2 separate regions of the Homo sapiens genome follow, and region 2 is linked to region 1. The links are contacts of gene promoters, found by promoter capture Hi-C in blood cells and fetal thymus (Javierre and others, 2016). All regions are on one chromosome and are shown on one strand. Each heading gives the region's core, a stretch centred on a gene start or on the middle of the fragment in contact. The rest is flanking DNA. Distances are from core to core; before and after follow the strand shown. Region 1 holds the start of ENOX1 (ecto-NOX disulfide-thiol exchanger 1). Region 2 overlaps TNFSF11 (TNF superfamily member 11).

Evidence for each region. The method cuts DNA at HindIII sites, captures the fragments that hold promoters and counts their contacts. A CHiCAGO score of 5 or more calls a contact.
Region 2: a fragment that was not itself captured here is called in contact with the fragment with the promoter of ENOX1 in region 1 in 2 of 17 cell types (naive B cells and total B cells); the score reaches 6.6 in naive B cells.

The regions. Positions count from the first base shown.
Region 1 is chr13:43,785,553-43,788,252 of GRCh38, forward strand. It overlaps ENOX1 (ecto-NOX disulfide-thiol exchanger 1), which reads right to left and starts at 1,420. Exons shown (of 17, transcript NM_001347969.2): 1 at 1,100-1,420. The HindIII fragment of the contact is 7,995 bases long and covers 1-2,700 here.
Region 2 is chr13:42,602,020-42,604,719 of GRCh38, forward strand. The region is part of intron 4 of TNFSF11 (TNF superfamily member 11); the gene reads left to right. Among named protein-coding and RNA genes, the nearest start is that of TNFSF11, 29 kb to the left of the region's middle. The HindIII fragment of the contact is 4,763 bases long and covers 1-2,700 here.

The sequences.
Region 1 (2,700 bases), core at 170-2,669:
GCCAGTTTTTTTCATGTAATGTTACAGCAGTGAAAGATTGAGGGAGAGAAAAGGAGAGAAGCAGGAGTGTATCTGGGTGAAGAAGCGTGGCTCAGTGGCTATACAGTGAGACGCAGAGATTCCACAGAGCTGGGCTTGCCCACCTGTCGACCCCACTTTCCCCATGTGCTCGCCGCGGGATGACAACCACAACACTCCAGAACCACCCCCCTTCCGAAAGAGGGCGGGGTTACGCCTTCAGCCAATCAGGACCCGCGAGCCCCGGGTGTCCAACCTATGGGGTGGCTGTGGCCGTGCAGGGGGAGGACGTGGGGTGGTCTGGGAGGGGCCGCGTCCGTGGGAGGCTCGCACGTGTCGGGTCCGGAGAGGCGGGGAGGCGGCCGGCGTCCAGCGGCCGAGGCGCGGGCTCTGCACCCTGGCAGCGGCCGAGTCCGGCTGCCCCAGTGCCTCCTTTACCTCGCGTTGGGCCAGGCAGGGCGCGCTCCCGCCGACGAAGACCTGTCCAAGGTGTCCGAGCTCCCCGCGAGAGGGGACAGTCACGAATAACAACAGTACCCAGCGCAGACTAGGCGGGGAGGAAAGTTTCCGGCCCGCAGCAGAGCGGAGTCCGCCAAGGCTGGAGGAAAAGGGATGCAGAGCGGGAGGGTGAAAACCTGAAAGAAGAGGGCAGCGGGAACACTGTGTGGGCAGGAACGGGTCCCGGGGGCGACGCCCGCAGGGGGAGACGGGTGCGGGGTGCGCTGTCCAAGGTGCAGGGGAGGTGACTGGCGCGCGGCGGGCGCGGAGCCCGGAGCTGACACTGGCTGGCGGGCGGAGGGGAGAGCGGGGAACAGCTGTCTGGGGCGCTGGGCACCCCCGGGCGCGTAAAAGTGAGGGAGCTTGAGACGGGGCACGGCGGGGAAGGGCGTGGGGGCTGCACCGAAGCCCCCACGCGTCCACGCACCCCTCCTCACCAGCCTCACCTCTAGCTCCACTCCCCTCCCCCCTCGCCCACTCCCCTCTCAGTCTAGATCCAGGTGCCGTGGCGGGGGTGAGACCAGAGGACCCCGGCTCGGAGCCCGGACGCCCCAGGGAGGCTGCGGGCCCCGGAGCTGCTTACCTGGGGCCGCCGTATGGGGAGCGGAGGCAACCCGCTGCGCGGAGTGGGGCGCCGGGCGCGGCGCGGCTCCTCCTAGCCTCGGCGTCCTCCTCCTCCTTTGCTTCTCCCGGACTCTGTCCCGGGCACGGAGCTGGGAGACGCGGCCGGGCTGCAGTCGCCGTTCCCTCTGCTGCCGCCGCCGCTGCAGCAGACAGAGGACGCCCCGTGGCGGCTGGAAGCCTGTGTGAGTAGCGGCGCCCGGGAGAGCGGGGATCTGCTGAGGGGCGCTGGAGACTCCGCGGCTGGAGGCGCGCGGGCGTGCGCACGCGCGCCTGCGAGTGTGAGTGTATGGGTGCGCGCGCGCCCACGGGGTGGGGGAGTCGCGAGGGGAGGGGGAGAGAGGCCGAGAGATGCTCGTAGGGACCGAGGCAAAATTCTACGACCCCGGAAATCCGTAAACGCGGGGAAGGAGGATCGAACGCGTGTCTCGCTTGGAGAAGCTGCCCACGGGGCGGCAGCAGAGGAGGAGGGGAAGTCAGCGAGGCGCGCTAGGGCTCCGGATCCCAGCCCGGCAGAGCCGAGCGGAGCGCGCAGCCACCGATGCAGCAGAGGCGGCGCCCGCAGCCCACGGTCGCGCTGCCCCCTCTCGGGAGGGGCCGAGGCCGCTCGCTCCCGCCACCGCCGCCGCGGTCGGGACTGCTCTACTGGGAGCGGGGGAACCGAGAGAGGGACCGCACGGTTGCTACGGCGACCTTGGAGGGGCCGGGCCCGCTGAAGGGCCAAGAGAAGAACCCGGGCGCACGTGGCCGACTCCAGGCTGGAGCGGGCGTGTTACAGGATTGTGGGCTTGGGGTAGACGGTGGAATTGGGCCGCGTGGCCTGGGCAGATGATGCGGGGTGTGCGGCCCAGAGTGGCTCGGCCGGGGTGCGGTCAGCATTCAGGTTGGTAAGGGTGAGGGGATCCTAACCCCAGGTGACATGTTGCCTTTTTTTCCTCCTTGGAGGCTACTTTTTCTCAAAGTTACCCACTTCCCAGGTAAGAATGCCGGCCTCCTCTTTGTTAGGATTCAACTTAGCTGTGCAGGCATCTAAGCAGTGCCTCCTTAGAGTCAGGCTCGTCCAAGAACCGCTCCCACCACCTCCCCACACACACCCACATCCCCCGATCCTCCATCCCAACTACATTGTAATACTTCAGAAATAAATGTTTAAAGCACATTTACATTCTCTGCCTCTTAACAGATATATTGTCTTAGTAGTATACTTTTCCTTGCTTATTTTAAATTCTGAGTGGGATTTTATTCACACAAGCATTTCTTCAAGGGTCGTAAGGTCTGGGTAATACTTGAAATACCCTTTCTGGCAGGAATCCTCAATGCAGGGATTGTGTTTTGCACACTTTTGCATGCCTTCCAGTGCTTAGCATAGTACTCTGTACTTTGTGAGTTCCCTGTAAATGTTGAATGAATGACATTGTTTTCTAGCTTCACGTAACCTGAAGGCAAAGACTTGGATGCTGGGAAAGTCATTACCACCCCACTAGGCTTGCCTGATTTTAACTTATGCCATTTCCTTGTGTGTGGCTATTTTTCCCCCTGGCGGTCAGAACCCCAATGCAAAGA
Region 2 (2,700 bases), core at 37-2,536, 1.2 Mb before region 1:
ACTTGTGGTCAGTTGGCTTGGCCAGAGGGAAAGAATTCAAAGCCCTTATGTTTCTCTTTTCCTGTGAGAAGTAGATTCATGTGACGTCTAATAACAGGGGTGCTAAAATCTGACTGCCTGGGTTTGAGGCTCCATTGTCCTGGCTCTGTGACCTTGTACAATTTATTGCAATCACATATGCTTCAGCTTCATCATGTCTAAAATGGGGATGTTGATAGCATCTGCCTCAAGGGGTAGCTATGAAGATGAAATGAGGTAGACTGCTAACATTCTTGTGTGGAAGAACGGCCATAGTAAGCACTTGGGAGTGTGATTTGTTATTTTTGAGTTCAATTAAATAATTATACATATTCCACCTTTTTCCTACAAATAATTTAAGGCAAGTTTTTCTCGGAGTTAAAGAAAGAAAGTTCAAGTTTTGCTAAGTTATTTGGAAAACTTTGTTACGGCATGGACAAGGGGGAATTTTTCCTGACCGAAGACACAGAAAGGGAGAAACCAATTCTTTGGCTTTTAGAGGATTTTCCAAATGACCTCTCCTGTCCCAGACACTTGCTTCATAAATAATTTGTCTCACTGTGTGTCTATGCATGTCTTGTGGTGGAGCTACACTAATTTTCTCTGAGTGGAAAACTGTTTTGCATGTTAGCAAAGGCAATCAAATAAATATGGATGCATCTGTATTAATTTCTCTGAGTGGAAAACTATTTTGCATGTTAGCAAAGGCAGTCAAATTAATACTAATGCATCAGCTGTGTGTGCTATTAATGTTCCCTACATTTATCTTTTCAGTTCACTTTAAATGGCATATGATAAATATTGCATTAGACCGTTTGCCAAAGTCTGTTTGGCAATAGCAAGCATGTTTTAGTTATAAAACTCTCTCTGCAGGCACCTAGCATCAAATCATTGCCAAAAACACAAGGCAAAACTCCTGGTTATTTTCTGACAGTTATTGAGTTTGTGACTGAGTGAGATGAGTTAGTGTATACTTCTGTTTAAGAAAATAGAATTTGTGGCTCTGGCTGGGCCCACAACTCCTTGAGTCCATTTATTACCCAGTTTTGGCCAGTACTGGAGGTTTCAGAGGAAGTGGCTTTAAATTTGCATGTTCATTTTGGGGCTCTGTTTTATACTTACTTACACAAGTAAAATCAGAATCTGCCTTATATGGACTGATACCACTTGCATTTTCAAAATATCTTAGATGAAATGCGTTGGGAAGTATTTAGTGAGGTCAGAATACATGGCTTTCTTTAGGAGGATACTCAGGCTAAATATTTGCAGAGACCTCTTCTGCGGTACTTAGCAGCAGGGACTGAAGTGTAGGGCAGGGGAGGCTGGGAAAGCTGGCAGGCTGGAGTCAGGGGTTGTCAGTGTGCCTCAGTGATGAAAATCCAGGTTTCCATGTGAGGCCTGCTGTGTGATCACTGCATATTTTTCTCATGTTTTTACCTGGTATTATCTGCTTCTGAGTCCTCTCTTCACACTGACTGGCTCTCCTCCTTTTCCCCCATACGTGCCATGCATATTCCATTCTTTGCTCAGTTTCCTTCACTGACAATACCCTCCCTTTTCTCAGCCCATCCAAGTCTGACCCAAGGCCCCACTGTCCTCTGGCTTCTCTGCCCCTTCCTGAGCTGAGCTCTCCTGCTTGCCATGAATTTCTGTAGCTGTCTCTTGGCAGTTGCTTGTAACTGAATGTCAACCATGTGCTATGCAACATGCAGAAGTGAAAATGCATATTTTATATGCTCATTTTCTATTTTCTCTACTATTAGTGGTGAGTGCCATTAAGGCACAGTTGGTTGATGTAATTCTTAATTACGGGCAGACTGCCTGTTCCTAAAAACACCACGTAGATATTGTGTGACTGATCAAAAGCATGAACCAGTGAATGTATGAGTAAGTCAATGCACAAAAATAGAGAGATGTTTAGTAGGAAATAAGGGCACTTCTTCCACATGACTTACCTAACAATGGGAATGGTAATCGGTCAAGGTTCCTCTCTTCTCCTGCCTCTCTATTTCATATTCTTTCCTTGCCTTCCTAGGCCATATCTTGCTCTAACGCCAGCTGATCCATCCCATTGAGAGGGTAGACTTCTCTTCTGTTAAGAGATAACTATAAGAAAAATCATTGATTGAACAACAAATTGACTGCAAGAGTGGGATAAGAATGAAGGCAGCATGGGATAACTTGAGATGGGAAACATCTTGAATTTCATGGATTTTGTCAATGGATTAGAGGAATTGCTTTTACTAGTGTTCATGAAGGTGTGATGATCATGCTCACTCACTTGGGGCCAGATGATGGTATTTATATCTGGGGTGCTTTAATCTGGGATGACCTGAAATAAGACCTCCGATGAAAAAGAAGGGTGTTTATTGTGGTGAGCCCAGGAGGCAAGAGGGCCTGTGATGACCCCGCTGCAGATAGGTTGTGGAGTTCAGGAAATATCCTGTTTCTGGACAGAGGGATTGGAACCATTGAATTCTTGGTCTTCTCATGATGGGTTGCCCCACCGTTGGATGGCCCTTGCTGCAGTTTTTCTCCCAAGTGGTTGAAAGAACTGCCTGTTTGGTTCCTACAGCCTAGTTTTGAGGCTCCCAGATCATATCCCAGGCTCCCAGTTCTTTAGAGATAAAATTGTAGAACATTCTCTATCTTGTGGGCCTCTAGAGAAGGATGTAGATGTTC